Linked DNA regions of Homo sapiens: all the other regions are linked to region 1. Evidence: promoter capture Hi-C in 16 types of primary human blood cells and fetal thymus (Javierre and others, 2016). All regions are on one chromosome and are shown on one strand. Each heading gives the region's core, a stretch centred on a gene start or on the middle of the fragment in contact. The rest is flanking DNA. Distances are from core to core; before and after follow the strand shown.

Evidence for each region. The method cuts DNA at HindIII sites, captures the fragments that hold promoters and counts their contacts. A CHiCAGO score of 5 or more calls a contact.
Region 2: a fragment that was not itself captured here is called in contact with the fragment with the promoter of FNIP2 in region 1 in 2 of 17 cell types (erythroblasts and M2 macrophages); the score reaches 7.1 in erythroblasts.
Region 3: a fragment that was not itself captured here is called in contact with the fragment with the promoter of FNIP2 in region 1 in 7 of 17 cell types (M2 macrophages, erythroblasts, M1 macrophages and 4 more); the score reaches 8.8 in M2 macrophages.
Region 4: a contact is called between a fragment that was not itself captured here and the fragment with the promoter of FNIP2 in region 1, in 1 of 17 cell types (erythroblasts). The highest score is 6.4, in erythroblasts.
Region 5: a fragment that was not itself captured here is called in contact with the fragment with the promoter of FNIP2 in region 1 in 14 of 17 cell types (fetal thymus, activated CD4 T cells, naive CD8 T cells and 11 more); the score reaches 13.8 in fetal thymus.
Region 6: a contact is called between a fragment that was not itself captured here and the fragment with the promoter of FNIP2 in region 1, in 17 of 17 cell types (naive CD4 T cells, activated CD4 T cells, non-activated CD4 T cells and 14 more). The highest score is 24.8, in naive CD4 T cells.
Region 7: a fragment that was not itself captured here is called in contact with the fragment with the promoter of FNIP2 in region 1 in 14 of 17 cell types (total B cells, naive CD4 T cells, fetal thymus and 11 more); the score reaches 15.7 in total B cells.

What each region holds. Positions count from the first base shown.
Region 1 is chr4:158,767,270-158,770,504 of GRCh38, reverse strand. It overlaps FNIP2 (folliculin interacting protein 2), which reads right to left and starts at 1,479. Exons shown (of 17, transcript NM_020840.3): 1 at 1,186-1,479. The coding sequence starts at 1,292. RefSeq lists an enhancer at 834-1,571 and a silencer at 1,529-1,738. The HindIII fragment of the contact is 6,862 bases long and covers 1-3,235 here.
Region 2 is chr4:159,276,500-159,279,734 of GRCh38, reverse strand. The region is part of intron 7 of RAPGEF2 (Rap guanine nucleotide exchange factor 2); the gene reads right to left. Among named protein-coding and RNA genes, the nearest start is that of MIR3688-1, 150 kb to the right of the region's middle. The HindIII fragment of the contact is 7,495 bases long and covers 1-3,235 here.
Region 3 is chr4:159,238,794-159,242,028 of GRCh38, reverse strand. It overlaps RAPGEF2 (Rap guanine nucleotide exchange factor 2), which reads right to left. Exons shown (of 30, transcript NM_001394067.2): 5 at 3,145-3,220; 6 at 661-828. Among named protein-coding and RNA genes, the nearest start is that of MIR3688-1, 110 kb to the right of the region's middle. The HindIII fragment of the contact is 1,639 bases long and covers 788-2,426 here.
Region 4 is chr4:159,221,185-159,224,419 of GRCh38, reverse strand. All of the region lies in intron 4 of RAPGEF2 (Rap guanine nucleotide exchange factor 2), which reads right to left. Among named protein-coding and RNA genes, the nearest start is that of MIR3688-1, 94 kb to the right of the region's middle. The HindIII fragment of the contact is 8,955 bases long and covers 1-3,235 here.
Region 5 is chr4:159,204,150-159,207,384 of GRCh38, reverse strand. The region is part of intron 3 of RAPGEF2 (Rap guanine nucleotide exchange factor 2); the gene reads right to left. Among named protein-coding and RNA genes, the nearest start is that of MIR3688-1, 77 kb to the right of the region's middle. The HindIII fragment of the contact is 1,406 bases long and covers 1,020-2,425 here.
Region 6 is chr4:159,177,838-159,181,072 of GRCh38, reverse strand. All of the region lies in intron 1 of RAPGEF2 (Rap guanine nucleotide exchange factor 2), which reads right to left. Among named protein-coding and RNA genes, the nearest start is that of MIR3688-1, 51 kb to the right of the region's middle. The HindIII fragment of the contact is 1,224 bases long and covers 857-2,080 here.
Region 7 is chr4:159,157,797-159,161,031 of GRCh38, reverse strand. All of the region lies in intron 1 of RAPGEF2 (Rap guanine nucleotide exchange factor 2), which reads right to left. Among named protein-coding and RNA genes, the nearest start is that of MIR3688-1, 31 kb to the right of the region's middle. The HindIII fragment of the contact is 913 bases long and covers 1,077-1,989 here.

The DNA.
Region 1 (3,235 bases), core at 230-2,729:
TTCAAGAAAAGCAAAATCTAGAACATAAAACTTAATCCAGAATTTATTTCAAAGTTTCACTTGAAACTTTTAAAGGTTTATTATACTGGGTCTAGATCTGTTTAACAGTGAACTGTTTTTGCAAGACATTTTGGCCAAAAAGCACCTAGCATAGTGTCAGAATTGGGAGTTGGTGCTCAATTTTAAAATGTGTTGAAAAATTGTTAAATAAACTTCTCAACATACCTGTGCTCAAAGGCAATATAGGACATTTTAAGGCGTCTTTTAAAAGTTAGCCCTTGAAATCAGAATAGCATAGGGATTTTAAAGACTGGAATCTGTGGTCAAACTGCTTGGGTCAAAACACAGGCTCTACCACTGACAGCTGGATTTTGGGCAAGCCGCCTAAGTTATCTGTGACTTTAAGTTTCCTCACCTGTAAAATGGGAATTATAATAGCACCCACCTCACCGCATTGTCAGAAAAGTAAACGACAGAAATCAACATAAAGCATTTTAGGTAGTAAGCTCTCCATAAATGCTATCAATATTCAAAGGTATGTGTTCGAGAGATCAAATCTATTAAATATACATATCAGCTTTGATCAATTGAAATCTCGGAAATTTCATAATTGCATCTTACTCCCCCTTTCCACACATCATGCGGCATCAACCTTCCACATGATGTGGAAATTACATACTTTCATTCATCCGTTTGAGAGCTTGTCATATATGGCAAGAAAGAAGAAAGATGCCTTTTTCGTGACTGTTGCTCCTTCAGAACTTCAAAACACTGTCACGTACACAATAGGTTGGAGCTGCCCTCAAAATGACAGCTCACAGCTTTGCTGGGCCCGCAGAGGTGCCCAGGCGGCTCTGCCCGGAAGGGGTTCACCCCAATAACCGGAGAATCTCCGGTCGCCACAGCCAAGCACAGCGCACGCCCGGGAACCCCAAGGAACACAAGAGAACTCTGAAATGGGGAAGGACCCTGAGTTGTGGAGAAAGAGCGGGAGGAAGGGTCACGGAGGGTCCGGAGCCACACTCGGATCAGGCGCGTCCACGCTGACAAGCCCGGGACCAGGTGCCGGCGATAGGCAGCGCCGTCCTGGACAGTCCCTTCCCTTTCCCCTACCCGTCCCCTCCCCGGCGAGCACCGAAGCCAACTCGGGTCCCGCGCCAGAATTGCCCCCCGGCGCCCCCTCACCTAAAGGCGGGTCCTTCCTTAGGAGCCCTGCCCTGGGCAGACGCCGCCGCGGAGCTGCCGCTGCTGCCCCTTTTGTTGAAGAGCTTCTGGAGCAGGGTCGGGGCCATGATGCCGCCGCCGCAGCTCCGGCCGTGGCGCTCGGGGGGCCGGCGGCTCAGCGCGCAGCCGGGGGCGGCGGCCGCGGTGGCGGGGCCATCGCGGCGGCGCGGCCGCCCAGCCTTGCGGGAGCGCGGGGCCGCTGCGACTGAGTAACTCTGCTCGGCGCCGGAGCCGCCGGCTGCCGGTCATATGACTGAGCCGGCCCGCCACCGCCTCGCGCGCTGACAGTTATCTCCTGCGGGAGGAGCCCGCAGCCCCACGGCGGCGGCGGCGGCGCGGGAGGAGCGCGGCGGCCCCGGCGGCGGCCATTGGCCCGGCGGCCGCCCGCCCCGGGCTCACGTAACCCCGGCGGGAGGCGGGAGGTGGGAGGTGCGGCCAGGAGCGGGCGGGCGGCCCAGTACTCCGGGCACGCGGGGGACGCGGACGGGGGCAGGCGCGGCACTTAAAGGGGCCCGAGGGGCGAGGGCGGCCGCCGGGGCGCAGCTCCGCGAGTGGCGTGGGGTTCCCACGGAGCCTGGGTTCTTTCGCACAGCGAGCATGCAGCTAGGCCGATCTTTGTTCTTTAGAGACAAAGCCCCTGAACTTGGGTCCTCGCTTTGTTCAGGTACAAGAGCCCGTTCACAGAAGGCGTATGCTAGGGGGGAAGGCTTGGTACGCGCGGTGGCCGCTTCGGTGGGCTGTGATTTGAATCACATAGCACCCAAGGTTTTGTCAGGTTTCCTCCATGTCCAAATTCGATTCCTCCAGGCTTTCACAAAATTTAAACTGTTTATCCAAATCATTTGTTCTGTTTGGCGTCTTGGGCCACCATACCATGGTTATATAAGAAGTTGCATTTGAAATATTAAGTCCCCCCTTTAAAACATACACACACACACACACACACACACACACACACACACACAGAACTCACTACATAGATTTAGAAACTTAAGATATTTTATAGCAAGGGATTGTTTTTCCTAATACATATTTAACAGTCAATCAAGGCATATCAGCAGCAGATATTTGGTTTGAGGAAGGGAGGAGTTCATGTGTTTGAGTCCGCTTTCCTGCCCTGTCCCACCCCAGTCCCCTTTGGAATTTAATCCTTGGTGGTGCAGGGCTCTAAACAGCCAGTGTAGGACACGTTACCAGACTCAAAGCAACTTCTTAATCTATGTTTTAGAGCGTTGGGCTTCACGAATTTTTCCGATGATGGGAAATAGAGATAAAGTTAGTAAGACCCCAACCATGCCTCTTCTAGCTTCTCCATGAGTAGTGAACAGTGACTCACCTGGGCTCTCTTACACTTGTTGAGAGGAGGACTCTTGGAGACTCAAAAAGGAAAATATATTTCCAAAAACATAAGTAATCAAAAGAACCTATTCTGGGCCTATTTTACTTTGCATTTTCTTTTTTTAATTGTGTTAGTTTCTGGACTTGGTTGGGAACTAGCTGTGAATAATGTGCTGAAATTTCACAAAGGTAAGAGAAAGGTGGTAGAAATGGAAACTTAGTCATTTGTTTCCTTCGGACTTTTACTGTTAAAATGGTGGATTAAGTGTTTATCCTGATGAGCAATCATCCTTTTGCACAATTGAGTGTACACAGAACCCTAATTTGCAACTTTGCTATTTCTGTTTGCTGAAGGCCTTTACCTCATAGGGCTGCCAGTGTTGGTCAGGATGCTATATAGAAGGTATTGGCTTTATACGTTGTGACTTTCAGATACAGTCCCAGGTCATACTGTGGCCAGCAACTCACCACCTTTCCTTACTCCATCCTTGGTCAGAAAATGTCCTTTATTCTCCAGACTAAAATCTGCATGTTCCTCATGAGCCTAGCAGCTTTTGTAACTGCATATAGAAGAGGAATTTGACATATTGTGCCTCATTCCTCACTTCCTAGGACTCTTTCAGTTCCAACCCAGTCCAAATAGACAAGATCATCCAAAAGAGGCAATTAAAAA
Region 2 (3,235 bases), core at 332-2,831, 510 kb before region 1:
TGCACTCCAGCCTGGGTGAGAGTAAGACCCTGTCTCAAAAAAAAAAGGAAAAAGAAAAGAAAATGTGGATGTGGATATAAAGAGTTAAAGAGTAGTTCTTCAAAACAAAATTGTATTCTTGCAATTCTGGCTAAGACTGAGGAACAATAAAATATACTGCTTTTATTTCCATTGAGATCAAGGTAAAGTTACTCTACATTTTATGTCAGGGATGGTAGCAGTTACGACATGGCACTTATGAAAGCCCTTTGAAACTTACTTGAAAGAAAATCACTTCTAAATGTTGAGGGAGGAATAAACTGTTCGAGGACTTTCTGATTAGAATTATAATCCACAGGACACACTGAAAACAAAAGGAATTGTCCATCCTTTAACCTATGTACAAAGGAAGGTGTTTCATGCAGCTTCCCCAAATAGACCTGTGCGTGCGCATGCATCTGCACGTACAAGAAAAACCTGCCAATGGCTCCACCAGGCGTTAGCTTGTGACTGTGAGAAAGTTACTTTACCTCTCTATGTCCTGATTTCTTTAGTATGTGGAGGCAGCACTCTTACATTATTGTGAGGATTCAATGAGATCATAAATGAAGAGTTTCGAACACTGCCTGGAACAAAGGGAGCCTTCCATTTTAACTAATGATATCATTACTGTTGTTTTTTCACTCTAATAATGAACTAGTAAAAAGAAGGTTGCTGCTGAGTATGGAACCGTAGGGGATGGAAAAGGCAAACCAACTTAAGGACAGTCACCTAAAGGAAAGGGAAACATCAAGTGTACTCAAGTGTACTGTCTCTGCCTCACGTGTGTAACAGGTTTAATTTTCCTTACCTCCTGGATAGTGTGGATAAAAACTTCCTACAAAAATATAAGAATTGTATTTATGGGTTGTGTATTATTCTAAGTACTTTATAGGTTTTACCTCATTTAATCTTCACACAACCGTATTACCTCCATTTTACAAATGAAGATTCCATGTTAAAAGACCACACAGCCAGGGTCACACAGCGAATGAGTGATGAAGCCAGATTGTAAATCCAAGTTACTGGTTCTGGAGTTTTCTGACCACAATGCTACAGCTCTTACTAATCCCTTCTCTTTACGTAACTTTCTTCACAAAGGTCACAACTGGCCAGATTATAGTTTTCATAATCACATGTACTAACTATTTCCTAACTTGGGTTATTTTTATAGATGGGTTACTAGCAGCAGTTTCACTTCTAAGTCAGATTCCCGCCTTCCACCCACTGCTAAATTTCGAGAGCTCCTGTGGAACCCTGAGTAGTTATTTCAATATATTTCAGTACTCAGGTTCCTTAGGGGTAGGAATGATAAAATCATATAAATTATAAGAGTAGAGTATTTAAACCAATGTGGGAGCAGGTCATCTTCAACCCCATTCTATCCTGGGTTTCTTCAAACCCTGTGTTCTAGGACTTCCAGATGACTCTGATGTGCCCTCAGAAATAATACCACACATCTACAACCATCTAATCTTTGACAAACCTGACAAAAACAAGAAATGGAGAAAGAATTCCCTATTTAACAGATGGTACTGGGAAAACTGGCTAACCATATGTAGAAAACTGAAACTGGATCCCTTCCTTACACCTTATACAAAAATTAATTGGAGATGGATTAAAGACTTAAATGTTAGACCTAAAACTATAAAAACCCTAGAAGAAAACCTAGGCAATACCATTCAGGACATAGGCATCGGCAAGGACTTCATGACTAAAACACCAAAAGCAATGGCAACAAAAGCAAAAATTGACAAATGGGATCTAATTAAACAAATGGGATCTAATTAAACTAACGAGCTTCTGCACAGCAAAAGAAACTACCATCAGAGTGAACAGGCAACCTACAGAACGGGAGAAAATTTTTGCAATCTATCCATCTGACAAAGGGCTAATATCCAGAATCTACAAAGAACTAAACAAATTTACAAGAAAAAATCAAACAACCCCATAAAAAAGCGGGCAAAGGATATGAACAGACACTTCACAAAAGAAGACATTTATGCAGCCAACAGATATGTGAAAAAATGCTCACCATCACTGGCCATCAGAGAAACACAAATCAAAACCACAATGAGATACCATCTTACGCCAGTTAGAATGGCAATCATTAAAAAGTCAGGAAACAACAGGTGCTGGAGAGGATGTGGAGAAACAGGAACACTTTTACACTGTTGGTGGGACTGTAAACTAGTTCAACCATTGTGGAAGTCAGTGTGGCGATTCCTCAGGGATCCAGAACTAGAAATACCATTTGAGCCAGCAATCCCATTACTGGGTATATACCCAAAGGATTATAAATCATATGCTGCTATAAAGACACATGCACACGTATGTTAATTGTGGCACTACTCACAATAGCAAAGACTTGGAACCAACCCAAATGTCCATCAATGATAGACTGGATTAAGAAAATGTGGCACATATACACCATGGAATACTATGTAGCCATAAAAAATGATGAGTTCATGTCCTTTGTAGGGACATGGATGAAGCTGGAAACCATCATTCTCAGCAAACTATCACAAGGACAGAAAACCAAACACTGCATGTTCTCACTCATAGGTGGGAATTGAACAATGAGAACACTTGGACACAGGATAGGGAACATCACACAACTGGGCCTGTAGTGGGGTAGGGGGAGGGGGGAGGGATAGCATTAGGAGATATACCTAATGTAAATGATGAGTTAATGGGTGCAGCACACCAATATGACACATGTATACATATGTAACAAACCTGCACGTTGTGCACATGTACACTACAACTTAAAGTATAATAATAATTAAAAAAAGATAGTCCCTAACTAGTCTTGCTCTGAGAAACAGCTAGAAGACATTTTAAAGTTATCCATATTTCCTTTTTTTTTTGAAAAAACTTCTTAATATCACTACTAATGAACTTTTGTGAGGATGTTCAACAGACATGCTTTAATTCTCATTTACATCAGGTTGCTCATTTTTTTCAGAGGGGAAATAAGGACAATGAACGGTAAAGAAATCTGGGAATATGCCCAACTAAAATGAACACATTAAAAGATTTTAGTGATAAAAGGTTCACTATATACAGTGCAAAGGGAGAAGAAATGTTGTCACCTGTGTTTATATTTTCTTTAGCTAAGCTATTTCAAATTTTATTTGTTATAACAAATAAGACACAGACCAACCTGCTGCTCAAATAACCGTAACAAAAACAAAGCAGTGAAAATTAGTTTAGC
Region 3 (3,235 bases), core at 358-2,857, 470 kb before region 1:
GGTTATGTCTGCCTGCCTTTAAGAGGATCTTTGAACCTATTAGAAATATTTCTAAGCATCTTTACATTGAGATTTTAAAAAGCATTATTTCAAATTATTCCTCCTTCACTGCATTAAAAAATAAATCTCAGAGATATTCTCATAAAGGTATAAAAAGCTATGAAAAATAATGTAATTTTTACATATCTACTTTTAAAATAAAAAACAGGGATGACAGCAGTCATTTGGGTTGGGAGTGAAGGGTGGAGTGCACAGGAGGGCGCTAAAATGTTAGATTAAGGTAAAACAACTTAAAATATTCCAATTACAATTACATGTGCTTATCACAAAGCTGATCTTCAGAGAACAACTTAAGAAATAAAGGAGCTAGCAAAGTCTGTTGACATGTTATTTCAATGTCTTTTAAAAACTAATCATATCATGTTTCCCAGAAAAATCTACTCTTTCTATAATAAATGTTTAAATAATATATACATATTATATATTTATTTTTATATTTATTAATATAACAAATAAAAATAAATATTTAAGTATACTTAATGTGTGTGTATATATATATAATTGAAAAGATTTGTCAAAAATGGAAAACTTAAACATCTTTTCACAAAACCCCAACAAAAAACTAGAAATAAATAAAAATATTATACTTGTATAACTTACCGTGTGATAGCCTCTAGGCAAAGGAGGTTTGCCCATGGGATAAGGATCCACAGTGTCAATAATTGTTTGTCTTTCACCTTTCTGGTTGATTTTTCTAAATCTCCTTCGAGACTGTCTATGGGAAGCTTGCCGCTGAAAATATTCTTCATTTTCATCCATATAGTCCACCTGAAATAAAACCCCCCAAAATTTCATTTCTCCAAACACAACATTTCCTATTAATATTAGATACAGAAAGAAACTTACAGATAACCCATATTCAATCATCTTGCAAAGACATCTGTAGAAAACTATCTAGACAAACTTCAAGTGTCTCTGAACTTCTCTGGAACTAACTGGTTTTGAGTAACATTTCTTTTATGAGGAGGCATTTTCAGTTCCACTTAGGACAATATGGGTAACTCTTGAATTTCCTGTAGTTTCAAAGGGAAGGATATTTTCAGCAGTCTTTGTACTGATTTATTAGTGAAAGATCTCACAGGATACATTACCACACATTATGAAAGCAACTGCCACACTGTCTTAAGCAACGTAGAAAAAAGAAAAAAAAAAAAAAAAAAACCCTGATGGAAATCTGTAAAAACTTCCAAATCCTGAATGACTCAAAAACAGTGCTAACAGAATGGCTTTGGTAGGTTACGCAAGGGTTTCTCCTTCTACTTTCATTCCATGACTTCGGTTTCTTTTTTTATAAATAGTGTTGTTTAAAAGTAATTCCTCATTTAAAAAAATTTTAGGCCAGGCACAGTTGCTCACGCCTGTAATCCCAGCACTTTGGGAGGCCGAGGCGGGTGGATCACGAGGTCAGGAGTTCAAGACCAGCCTGGCCAACATGGTGAAACCCCATCTCTGCTAAAGATACAAAAAAGTAGCTGGGTGTGGTGGCACGTGCCTGTAATCCCAGCTACCCGGGAGGCTGAGGCAGGAGAATTGCTTGAACCCAGGAGGTGGAGGTTGCAGTGAGCTGAGATCGCGCCACTGCACTTCAAGCTAGACAACACGACAAGACTCCGTCTCCAAAAAAAAAAAAAAAAAAAGTAGAAATGCTGATGAATGAACAGGGAATAAAAGTTACATTAGGTTATTCCTCATGTGACTTCTCATAATGGAGGCATGTCTAGGTTACAAAACTGTTCTCACACCAGCAAACCTAGTAGTTTGTGTAGTATCAGCAAGTATAAAATACTCAGTTTTAAAGACTAAAAATCCTCCAGAGAAATCTAAAAGTAGCATTAACAGAGGGCAAAATCTCAAGGAAATATCTAAGACTATCTACTGTTGGAAAGTGCTATATATCTGCCTACATTCTTCCCAATCCTAAATCCTTACCATTACTATGCTACTTTCTCACTTGAGTACGTTTTGTAAAACTTTACCAAATATTTTAGTAAATTTTACAAAAAGTTCGCTAGCTTTGATGAGGAAGTTCTCATTTCTGACAGAATTCCTCTCCTACATCATAGGGAAAAACCCTACATCTTCTCTGAAAAGAGACCTAGAATTGTTTACTAAATACTTTACTAAATGTGAATAAAAGTTTCCATCATCATCTTTATTTAGACATCATTTACTTTACAAGATCTTCCTTCCCAGCTAGGGTGCTGGATGGAGACAGTAAGAATATCAACTGAATGTCTAGGCTGGGAAACTCCCCTTCCACCTCATCTTATTTTTGTTACTAAATTTTTTAAAGGGTACATATTATCCTATCTTAAAATCATTCTTATACAGTAAGTAAAAAGTATGACAGGTTTGGTTTTTAAGCTTCAAAGTATGTTGCTAATATCTATTTTAACAATATGTTCTATGTATAATCTCTGTTTATAAATTTTTGTCACAAAATTACATTAAAAAGAGGGAAAAGATGTCAACAGAGTGTTTAACCAGCATAATAATCCCCAAATTTCCTTTTAATAACTTGAAAAAATTCAAGTGATTTTCTTGTGTTTTTTAAAATAGTGTTGTTTAAAAAATAATTCCTCATTTAAAACATCTTAGAAACTCTAATGAATGAATTAACAGTGAACACAAGTTCCATTTGGTTATTCCTCACGATTGCTCACAATGGAGGCATGTTTAGATTCCAAAATTGTTCTCACACCAGCAAACCTAGTGATTGATTTAAAGTAAGTCACTCATTCCAATCAACACTTGGAGAGCTAAAATCCTGCAATCAAGAGATTCTCCCCAAATTTCAATTAAATGGCATTATTATAGATTGAATTACAAAGTACAAAAACCAAACACTTAGCTACTTGTACTTTTTAAATTTTTTTGGCATTTAATTGAATCCTGTAAATAATAAAATATGATTATGAACTCAAATTCATATTAATAAAAAGTTGTGAAATAAATATATCTGTTATAGAAAATATACAATATTTTCTATTCAACAAAAATCTAATATTATAAGCAGTTTATAAAAATGCCTTTATTTCATACAATTTTTTAGGGGAAAAATAGTCCTCACAGAAATACTCTTACCACAATCATTTCAGAAGGCTCTAAAACAATGCATTCACAGCCACGCCTAAAACTTCCTGCAGAACGCTTGCCAAAACTAGAAAGAAAGAAA
Region 4 (3,235 bases), core at 266-2,765, 450 kb before region 1:
TCTATATACTGTCCCACAAGCACGTTCTTAGAAAAATTAAAATTCATGCTTCTTGGGCTTGAGTGGTAATCAAGCAGCTCTTCTCTACTATATTTGAAAGACTAAAATTACTTTATGTTCTGACATAGATAATCAATGAAAAAAATCTGTTTCAGCCACAATGATGCTTTCAAACACAAAATTTCCTATACATAAGGGATTTTAGAAGTTCACTTAAATGGGGTCAGGCGTGGTAGTTCATGCCTGTAATCCCAGCACTTTGGGAGGCCAAGGCAGGCGGACCACTTCAGGCTAGGAGTTCAAGACCAGCCTGGCCAACATGGCAAAACCCCATCTTTACAAAAAATACAAAAATTAGTCGGGAGTGGTGGCACATGACCGTAATTCCAGCTACTCAGGAGGCCGAGGCACAAGAATCACTTGAGCCTGAGAGGTGGAGGTTGCAGTGAGACAAGATCACACCACTGCACTCCAGGCTGGGTGGCAGAGCGAGACTCTGTCTCAAAAAAAAAAAAAGTTCACTTAAATGGGATAATGGCTATAAAATCTGGAATATCTTATTCAAAGCCAACTCTTTAGTTGTGTTCCCAAAATTATGTAAGTTAAAATTCAAGATAAGATGAAAAGAGGTAAACAGAAATGGTCTCACGATTCTGAGTAATAACTAAATTATTATCTTGGACTATATCCATCATGGCAAGAAGAGAGGCAAACATATATGTCTCTGATACGTATACGCTAGAGTATATACACGTTCATCCTAAAATGTATCTGATTTAGCCTAATGAAATGGAATTTCTTAACTTGAGGTTTTTCTGTGTGTAAAACTGAATTAAGTCTGCCTAATGACTGTTTTCTAAATTTACCCTAATGAACCATAAAATAATAATAAAACACAACAATGTGTTTGACAAATTTTAACCATTGCCCTCATTTTTAAAACTATCTGAAAATGTTTAATTAATAGCAAAGTTATCTTAAGGAAATTACACTTACATTCTAAGCAATTTCTAGTTGTAAAACATGAAAAGGTAAGCCATCAAGAAAAGATAAGATTATCTTGAAATATCTGACTCAATAAAGTAGATAGAAGTATAACTAAGAAAACAGTGATTTAATGTTCGTGTAGCTCTCTAAATACACGAACACTAGATAGCAGAAATTCTATTTTCTATTTAATAGCAAAAATATGTAACCCCTATAACGCCGTAAGAAACATCTAAGACAGTATTTTAAATATTTTGGACTCACAATTCAAAATACTAATTGGTAATAAAAAATAACTGCAGATCCTTTTAAAAACCACATGACATTTAAATTCTTACACTTAAAAAAGCAATAATATAAATATCTAAGCTATTCCTTCACTATTATTTCAACGAGTACTGTCAAACAGCTTACAATACATGGAAAAAATTAAGTGGGTACATAATACAGAATAAAGTCACCTTCAACATTTCAAAATATGATTTTCTTGTCTTCAAATATATATATATATATATAATTCAACTCATAATAAAAGTGTCCCTGAACTATGATTAATTGGACATTTTTATCTTAATAATGACATTCCAATTTCCCAGAGTATAATTTCCTTCACATATCAATCCTTCTTTTAACCATATTCTTACTCTTGTTATTTTCTGTTAGCGACCCCAATACAGAGAGTACACTTTCTTAAACAAAAACAAATTTAGCTGCTATGTTATTTTAAGATACACCCTGAATTCATACAAGTGAAACAGTAACTCACACATCCCTCTATCCCTTCTCCAAAAACAACCGGGGCACAGACAAGAGTTATGAGTTCCTTAGCACTTAGCAGTGGGTAACCAACTGAAACATTTTCCAGAGAAAAACAATACTGTGTTTCATTGACACAAACATCAGACTCTAAAATCTTTATGAAATATAGCATTATTTATTTCTTCAAGAGAAATATAAACATCACTGCAACCAGGACTTCTGGGATGAACTATCACACACTCATTTATAGCAAGGATCACAAACAATGCCCTAACTGAACACGTGAAGCACCAGGTGACCTGTGGAACTCCATCAACTATACACACAAAAAATATGAGTCCTTCTCTTTACGGCTACTTACTGTGTTAAGACACTACCAATCCCAGTGTTCCAAAGGCCACAGAAGCCTGCATTTATATGTACAGCACATCTGCGATGTTGTAGTTATAGCAACCAAATTCCCAACTTGATCCAGCAATTGAACCCTCTCTCTCTCTAGAGAACAGCTTTGCTCTGTGCATCAGGTATCACATCGGAATATGATGTACAAGAGGAAAGAGGGTTCTAAATGATGCTAAAAATCATGTTAGTGTTCCAGGATGAAGGTATTTCATACTGAAGCAGAAATTATGACTAATATCCGAAGGGGGAATATTTTAATATATACCACTGTGACTATTTACATATTTCACTTTACTTCTTTAGAGACCTACCTTATTTTACATTTAAAGTAGAATATACTTAAAACTAGTGTAGCTAAAGTTTCCCTTCAATATCATCAACTCTAGTTGAACCAAGTTGATATTTGTTTCATCATTTTCTTTGCCTTATTTGGAATTCTCTCCCAGCACTTCCTTAAGATCTTTAAGCCTTTGCCTTATATATGTCACAGGAATACCAGGACTTGAGTCAACTTTCAGTAGGACAAATAGGAATTACAGATGATATAAGAGCTAAAGGAGCGTGGCTAAGCCAATGTAGAATGTAAGCATAGGCAATTAATGCACTCTGAGAGTGAGGGGGAAAACTGAACAGCAGGTGTAACAGAGACCGTGGGTTCCCTGCCCCAATATCCATTTTCCTCTTTCTCCTTAGAAGGATAGTTTTTATATTATTATTTTTAGCAGGGCACATCACGTTGCAGAGTAAAAGACTACATGTCCCAGGATCCTGGGTGGCCTGAAGTAGCCACATGACTACTACTGTCCACATTCTGTACAATGAGATACAAATAGAAATGACACTTCAAGCAATCTGTCTTGAATGGAAAAGGTAACTTTGCTCTATTGCCTTTCCTCCTGCTTCTAGCTTTCAATGCAGACATGATGGCTGGGGTTTGGCAGCCATCTGTGCTACGAACTGACCCTGAAAATGCAAGCCACATGCTAGCACAAGCGGAGAAGAAGGGTGGAAGCCTGTAACCTTTCACCTTTGCAGCCACCACCAAACCATCCTGAACCATCCACTCCCAGGGTCCTTTTCTGTGAGA
Region 5 (3,235 bases), core at 473-2,972, 440 kb before region 1:
GGCACTGATAATAAAACACACTTGAAGTGAAAGGCAACCAGTGTTCAAAGTCGGTAAAATACTGTGGCAGTGAATGCTCTAGCATCCTTACCACCCGTCGATTAGCCTATATTTAGGGTTGACTCTTTATATCAGGAAATCCATGGGAAAGATTTGAGGATGTGAAGGTAAGTGGTAATCTCTACCACTTATTACAATTTTGTTTATCTGATAGATAGGCTGTTTCTCTACATTCCCCAAAGAATCCAAAGCTAACTTGCAAGAGTTATATTTGCTTTAGTAGGCATTTGCAGAGAATGACCATTCAATCAACATTTATTAAATTCAGTGAGCATTTACCACATGCCAGGCCACATATGATAAGCAAAATTTCTTTGAGCTATCCCTTCTAAGGATTCAGATTTTGGAAAAGTAAGTTAATTAAAAGTAAGAATACATAGTTAAGAAATGTAAGAATACAAAAAACAGTGACTCTTATTTTACAGATGTTCTGGAAATAGTTGTAAGCTAGAAAAACCCCTCTCCTCTCCTCCTATCCATCCCCCATAGAATTCATGTTTAGTTCCTGTTATGAAAATTCCTTGCTGAGGTGTCAGCATCGAAATATGTTTTATTTAGTCTTACTAGTCTAGAAAATTCCCCTTACTTTATTAGAAAGCACTGAACTAACCACGCTTACTCTTTTCACTTACAATCATGCCTCAGGCAGGCAGAGTTTCCGTGTGGGGTACAACGTGCTTCCCTTCAAGGTCTGCAAACACTTCCTTTCCACAGTGCAGCTAGCTGTCACTGGAGGGTTTTTACATGTGTATGTAAAAATGGGAAAGTGATGGTTTTTTTAAGAAAAATGAAACTGAAATTATGAAAATAGTACTTAGTAGTAGCAGCAGCAAATTGTTCAGTACTTAAAGGATATGCAAATTGAGACCTCACTTCCAGGCAATGAAGCTGGTTAAGAGAAGACTGACAATAATAATAATAGTACAGACGGTGCCCAACTTCCAATGGTCTGACAAGCTTTTTTGTCTTTACGACACACTCAACTTCCAGCACCACAACGATTCTGCTTTTCATTTTCAATAGAATATCCAATAAATTACATGAGGTACTCAACAGTTTGTTATAATATAGGCTTTGTGTTAAAAGATCCTGCGCGGCTGGGCGCGGTGGCTCATGCCTGTCATCCCAGCACTTCGGAAGGCAGAGGTGGGTGGATCACGAGGTCAGGAGATCGAGACCATCCTGGCTAACACGGTGAAACCCCGTCTTTACTAAAAATGCAAAAAAAATTAGCCGGGCATGGTGGCGGTGCCAGTAGTCCCAGCTACTCGGGAGGCTGAGGCAGGAGAATGGCGTGAACCCGGGAGGCGGAGCTTGCAGTGAGGCCAAGATTGCACCACTGCACTCCAGCCTGGGTGACAGGGCGACACTCTGTCTCAAAAAAAAAAAAAGATCCTGCCCAACTGTAGGCTAATGTAAGTGTTCTGAGCATGTTTACAGTAGCCTAAGTGTATGTGTCGGTTCTCACACTGCTATAAAGAACTACCTGGGACTGGGTAACTTGAAAAGAGGTTTAACTGGCTCACAGTTCCGCAGGCTGTACAGGAAGCATGACTGGGGACACCTCAGGAAACTTACAATCATGGGGGAAGGCGAAGGGGAAGCAAGCATGTTTTACCATGGTGGAGCAGAAAAGAAAGCAAAGAGGGAAGTGCTACACATGTTTAAACCACCAGATCTCATGAACACTCATCCACTATCATGAGAACAGCATAGGGGAAATCTGCCCCCATGATCCAATCACCTCCCACTAGGTCCCTCCCCCAATGGCACAACAATTTGACATGAGATTTGGGTGGGGACACAGAGCCTAACCATATCATTAGGCTAAGCAATGATGTTCAGTAGGCTAGGTACGTTAACTGCATTTTGACTTAGGATGTTTTCAACATATAGTGGGTTTATTGGGATGTAACCACATTGTAAGACAAGAAGTAAGTGTAGTGGTAGTAATAATAATAAATATCTAAGACTAACACTGAGATTCTATTCTATCTAGTAGTTCTCAGGCCCTGATGTGCAAATGAATCACCTAAGATGTTAATTTAAAATGCATCTATCCCACCCAATTCCCCAGTTTCTGATCATTAGATAGGAGATCCATCAAAGTGACTTTTAAACAAATATCCTGGATGTTTCTTACACATGGGGCTGGCCAACTCTGAAAAACTTTCAGAAAAAATGGTCTCAATATGAACTCCCAAGAGGAACAAATGGCAGGAAAAAAAGTACAACTCTATTAATATCCATGCAACTAGGTACATACATTGTATTAATCAGTGCTATTTTAATTTTTCCTCAAATAATTTTTTTTTAAAATTATGAGCAAAGGAGCCCCTTCAAGTGTTGCTGAAATGCCAAAGCTTAATCCTGAAAGAACCCTGACTGAGGATTTCCAAATAACCTGACACTACCAGTACTGGGCAAAAAACAGAAATCTGAAGACTAAAGAGGTTCGTATAGGAAAGCAGTACTTGCGAGTCTCTCTAATCAGGGGAATTCACGCTTACAGAAGACCAAATCCTTCTTAGAATCTCAGAATTTGACCACAGGATCTTGAGCTAGGAACCACAATGGACAACTGATTTCATTTCAATACATCTCATCCCACAATGGACAAAACGGAAGTCACAAAAGCCCTGGTTTATAACGAGAAACTCTAAAAGGCTCCTGTTTCTGTTTTTCATCAACAGGAAGGAAATTAACGAGGCCAAACAAAACCAAATACAGACCATTATAAAATGATCAGTTCACCTTCCAATGTAAACAGATAGAAAGCCTCTGGGGCAATCAGAACTGTATGATCCCCGCTGAGCATTATCCCAAGTCTAAACAAAGAATAATGGGCATGAGGGAAATACTTGATCTGACCCCCTCACCTCTCCCACCTTCCTTCCTACTACCCCTCAACATAACCTGCTGCTCCTGACAGGCTGCTTTCCTTCTGTTCATTCCAACTCTGCCATGCTGTTCAAGATGTTTACCTCTCTCCATCTACCCTCTACATCCCACTGTACCTTAAGAGATGGCTCAAAAACTACTACTTTAAGAAAATCTTCTCACTCACTGTTTTCCAAACTCTAAAATACTTAGCCCATCTAATTTCATTGTTTTATGTTTTTCTGTAATGATTTCTTATTCCTGAGCATCTTCTTCCAACTACAATGAACTTCCT
Region 6 (3,235 bases), core at 219-2,718, 410 kb before region 1:
TACGTCATACACATTATGTGTGTTAGTATGATATACATGGATTTAACAATTTTGAATATGAATGTATACTTTGAATAATAACCATTATTTCTTTATCTTAATTATAACATACAAATTAAATAAGATTGTTGATTAGTTAATAAAAATGTAAAGAATGGAATATTATCACCTATAATTCACTGACATAAGTAAATCAATCAGGAAATTGTTACTGAGCCTGTATCATAAAACTGGGAAATAGACATTACACCTTACTGCATGAACAAACTTAAAAAGCAGTTTTTCTTTCTATATGTACCTGCATAAATAAAACATTCATATCCATATAATCATGATTTTTAGGGGGTACTTTCAAACGTGTCATTATTCAAGCAGTATACAACCAGAAAACCCTGTGTAGTAACTGCTTCATTTTGTATTTTATATATCAAACCAGACTATAAACTTCTTAAATAAATTCAATTACATTCAGGGTTTCTTCTATTGCTCTTACAGTACATCATCCCACATGAAACTTGTTTTAAACGGTCTGTGCCACAAGGAGCCTATAAACTAGGGGAAAAGACTACATTATTCTGCTATTATAGATGCAGTTAGGTGGCTTTACAGATAGACTCCATGTAAACTTGAGACTTCTTAGTTGTATTAACAGGAGTGGCAGGCAACACATAAGTAATGTTTCACTACGTAATATGAACTTGACCAACGTGGATTTGGGTATGTAGGAAAAAAAAGAGAAACTATGGCAAAGACATCAAGAAATCTCTGCTCTCAGACCCCGAAAAATGAAAGAAAGTTTACTAGAGATAAGCAAAAGACATGCAAATTAAAGGAAGAAGCAATCTGTGTTTAAGCTTTTCTTCAATCAGGAGGTCAGCAGCCAAATATTAGTTACCACAGATCGCATAAACAACAAAAAGGAAAACGGAAGACAAGTTTTCTTATCCTTTCCTAAAAGCAAGCGGGACTAAGCAATGTCTTGAAATAGGCACACATTGCCTTTCATTTCTAATCTTCCTATCAATTTTTTCTACCTTCTCACCAGGTGTCGAGACCTCACATTACCCAAGCCCCATATCGGCTCACTATGCCCTGGTCTAAGAATTAAAGGCAGGCAATCTGAACACATTCAATAGGAACCCTTAAAACTTGCACATGAACTGTCTGTCGGCATTTGTACTTCCATAGTCCAAACAAACCTCTAAGTGGTATGAGATTTCAGGCAGCACAACCAAGAGAAATGAAATCTACCAGGAGTTGTAAGGGAGGAGATTTAGGGCATGAAAGGCCACTGCAAAACAATCCAGCTCTGCCCTGCCCAGGAGCTACCCCCACTCCTTTCCTGCCCATAGTGGTCACTCCTATTTCTCCTCCTTCACTTCTCACACAGAAGTTTCAACCTTCATTTCCCCTTAGTTGTTGGCTTTTCTTAAAATAATTAGTTGGCATGGAATTGCCTCTACCAGCAAAAAAACAGAAAGGCAAGTGAGTAAGAATGGGGTGCTGAGAAGTCCCGCTCCTCAAACCAACCTGAAATGTGCAACCATTAGTGAAAACTAAATATGTAGCATCACAGAGCAAGACTTTTCTCTTAAGATGCACAAAGAAATGTATGGCCTTCAGGGAGTTACACTTTTAGATTCTTTTTTTCTCTATGCAAACAAGAAACATTCATAGAAGGAAATTTCAACCAACAACTATAGAAAAATAATGCTGGAGAGTTAAATTACCTAGAGTGTCTCAATTTCCATTTTGGTCAAAAAACTATGACACACAAACTGAAAAATTTCTAACCTTCCCAACTGCACTTCCCAAGACAAATGAAATTCACATGACTACTACTATTTTAAAGGACTCTGAAAAAAAAGTAAGCTATTTTTTCCCCCAAATTCTCTAGTCATTGAGCACAAACAGGAACATGTTGCTTTAACCAGGAAGCAGCATTTTTTAGAACAATAAGTCTTTCGTTTTACCCTAGGAAGGACATCCTTTTTTCAAAATAGATGCTACTTGAAAGTAGACTGAAGTTATAAAACCATGGTAGCACATTGGACAAAGATATTGATAAACCAATAAAGCTTTCCCTTTTTTTGTCCCAAATGTAAACCAGATTCAAAACCCAAAAGCATCCTTTAAGTACTTTAGGGGGGTGATTGTTCACAACCTATCCAAGTCAATCCTCTTGCTCAAAGTCTGTTAACATAATACATGCTAGGTCAGGCGTGGTGGCTCACGCCTGTAATCCCAGCACTTTGGGAAGCCGAGGCGGGTGAATTGCCTGAGGTCAGGAGCTCAAGACCAGCCTGGCTAACATGGAGAAACCCCCGTCTCTACTAAAAATACAAAAACTAGCCGGGCGTGGTAGTGTGCACCTGTAAGCCCAGCTACTTGGGGGGCTGAGGCAGGAGAATCGCTTGAACCCGGGAGGTGGAGGTTGCAGTGAGCTAAAATCGCGCGGCAGCACTCAAGCCTGGGTGACAGAGCGAGACTCCGTCTCAAAAAAAAAAAAAAAAAAAAAAAAGCATAATACATGCTAATGGGAAAGAAGTCAGAGGGAGAGTACCCCACATCCTGGGCTCTCTAATTTCTCCTTAGAGACTCATTCAGAATATATAACGGGCTTCATAGCAAACTTACAATTCACTTACAACTAGCTTTTAGTTTCATTTGTTTGCAGCATCAAGATCTCACTAACAATGTACAGTATGTCGTAATATGATCTTTGGAGAACTGAGAGCAGATTAATATTTCTCCACCTCCTCTCCTGACTGCCTGCCCATACCATATGCTGGTGCAATCCCTCCTATCCTGTATAGACTCTTTGCTGCTTGTACACAACAAAAAATAATGGGGTGGGGGGATTATGTTCCACTGCAGCATGAGAAAAAAGACATATCTTTTTCCTTTAAAAGGGGTTTTGTTTCATATATGAACCTACATATTTAACTGTATTTGGAAGTGGATTGATTCCTTTAAAAAGTCTTTCTTAATGGTCAAGGAAACTGAGGCCAAGACTGTGTCATAATTAGCAGGCCTATGGAGGTTGAGGCCTAAGTGGTAAATGTCTATGGACTTAAACATAAGGAGGAAGAGAAAGGAGCATCTTGCTTAAAGCGACACTGGTCACAGGACCAGAACTGTCCTGATGCCAACATATTCTTCCTTGTTGATCCATCAGAGAGAGGAACTTGGAAAGATAAAAATGAAATTTATCCTTTTGGGCAAAAGATCACTA
Region 7 (3,235 bases), core at 284-2,783, 390 kb before region 1:
GAAGCATTTTTTTAAGCTATGAATTCAAAACCTATGATTAAAAAAAACTTTAATTTCTAATTAGGTTCGGATACTTGATCACTAATATTTCTAATTAGTTTCAAATGGAAGGGTAAAAATGTAATATAGACAAAGCTATAGAAGAAATTTTACCTTTTAAACCCTGATGTGGGTAAGTACACTCCACTTTAAGATGATTTCCTACATCGTACTCAAAAAATTTCATTGTGGAAGAGAAAAAAAAATGATGTACAGGAATAGGTGAATAGAGCATGCACTACAAATTCACTTAAATCAAATCCACTTCCTTTTGGAGTCGTTATTTTAAGGCACAAAGTAACAGATCTTCATCCATATAGTTTGCTACATACAGAAAAAGATATACTGAATATCATGTTAAAGATACATACCTAACTCTGGTCTAAGCTCTGTGCGCAGGCAATGCAGTTAGTTTGAAGTTGACTTTCTTCAAATTGCTACTGAAGTTTGCTATTGAAATAAGTGAAACAAACACTTTCTAGCCATAGTCCCAACACTGCCAACAATATCCATGTTACATGAGTGAGGATTTAAAATCAGAAACAGATGGGTTTGAAGCTTCAGTTCTAGCATTTACTGTGTAATGTATGACCTTAGGCAAAGTATATCAACTGTCCTCATCTGTATAATGTGAGAAAACATGTTCTTCACTGGGTTGGGAGAGAATTAAGTAAGATAAAACAGGCAAAATATAAAGCACAGTGCCTGGCTTTCTGTAAGTATCAGATATTATTAACATTTTATATAAAAGCACAACTATCAGTTGTTGATAGGAAAGAATGGGAATCAGTAAAAGGTACATTTCATAAAATAACTACAATTTTAAATGTGAATAGACATGTGTCTATAGTATACGTAACAGACTAAAGCCTTTGCACAACTAGAAATGTTGAACAAAGATAGCTTCTTGATGAAATAATCTCATTAGACTAAAACAACTATGTAAGTGTCCAATTAATATGAATTCAGCATCACATTTCATACTTAGCTATTAGAGTTTAAATGTGGGTTTTTTTCCATATAGATGAATAAAAGCTTGATTGGAGGGAGATCAATAATACCTGTGTTATAATTGGCTCAATCACATTTTCCCCACAGGATCATCCACCTGATGATCTGAGAACAATAGTATTCCTCCTAAATAAAGAAAAAGGATGCAGCTGCTTCCATCTATAAATAGGATGCTGCTATACGAGTTGAGAACACTATTGTTCACACTGTCAGTTTAAATCACTTCCACATTTCTAATGAAGAGGTCAAGTTGTAGAATTGTTATTATAATCTTGAATGCTGAGAAAAAGTCACTAAAATTTAATTTGCTGTAATATGTGTATGAATAATTTTTCAGTGGTCAGACGATTCTGAAATACTCTTTTTAAGAGACCTCTTGGAACAACACTACACTCAGTTTTCTTGAAAACATCTATAGGTTGATCCCACTATATGTACTTAAATCAAAATAAAAGAATTTTCTTGGAACAACACTACACTCAGTTTTCTTGAAAACATCTATAGGTTGATCCCACTATATGTACTTAAATCAAAATAAAAGAATTTTCTTGGAACAACACTACACTCAGTTTTCTTGAAAACATCTATAGGTTGATCCCACTATATGTACTTAAATCAAAATAAAAGAATTTTCTCCATACAGATTGAAGCAACACATTTTTCCTAAGAGAATAGTGATGTCCAACCATATTTGCCTAACAGTGGAATCTGAGGGTACAACTTGTTGTTTGTAAAATGGAAGGAGGGTGATGCAAAATAAACAGCTGCGTGATCCAGGAAAGGGGCTGAGGGAGACACTGTGGACGGGCGCTGCAAACCACAGAGGTGGCAGAGGAAAACAACTGAGGGAAGTATTTTGGCATCAGACCCAGTCGAAATCCTAACTTTGCTACTTATTGCTGTAAGATTCTGGGACAGTTACTTAAATATCTCTAAGCTTTCATTTCACCATATAAAAATTAAGGATCATACCTACACTTTATAGTGTTGCCGTTAAGACCAAATAAAGTGAGATTATAAAACACTTAAACGCTAGCCCTTATACAGCTACGGCTATTGTTTCAATTTTAAAGAAAAGGGGGATTAGCCAGTCTCCAAAAAACCCAAATAAGAGTGAAACTTGAGTAAGGGCCTCTAGCGAGGTTGTCAATGATAATTTCTGGTTCCTTCAGGTTCCAAGGTCCAACCTGGCAAATAACGCTAGTAAAATTTCACCCTTCTCAGTTGATTCAATTAATATTGAGCAAATTGCATAAATTAAAAAGACTTGGTTTTGTGTGCCAACATACTCTGGATGCTCTCCTGAATAGGTGACTATAGTCATCTCTGAACTTTTTTTTTGTTTGCGACCACCAAGGGTTGCTACTGGTAATTACCTACTTCTCCCTGCCCACAAAGAGAATATTTACACAAAATGTTCAATAAAGGAACTCTGTAAAGGAAAGGTGTTAGCTATTTAAAAGCAGAGAGATTTGGGTAGGAAATTTTTTAATGACCTCTGATAACCTTACAAGTGCTCTCAACAAAGATGGTTTAGGTACTGCCTGTTGGGAGACTGGAGATTAACTAGATAATCTTAAAGTCCTTTTAGACTCAAGACACAAAAAGGAGAGCCAAAGGAAAGGGATATGTCTTCCTTTGCTTTTTGTTCAACTACAATCTACATTTACACCTAAGTAATAATGCTTTCCCACATAAGGAGAACAATGAAAGATAAAGGATCACTGATCTGCATGCAGTTCCTGGAATTTATTGCTGGTTGGGGAGTGAAGTTGAAGGAAATTAAGAGGACTATTGCCTCTTTTTACTTTTGGCAAAAATACAATGCAGGCCCTCTTAAGAATAAAAATCATTAAAACCTTCTAGTTAATATTTATCTCCTTTAAGAAGAAAATATTATAAACTTCTACTATAACTCTGAAATGTCAAATAAAACAAGTATTTTAAACAACCAAAATTAGAAGTACACCCCCAGGCACCATCTGCTAGCCCCACCATAGACATTTACTACACCTGGCTGCTGCCTGTCTCGGTCCCTACCCCAATTCCTCAAAACCCAGCTTCCCTACCTCAACCTTCATGCCACTGCCACTGCCATAGGAAGAAAGGAAAATGAGTGGAATAACTTCAAATACTCAAAGAACTGTCCTAAAAGAAGGACCATTCCTTTCTTAAACCATGACAT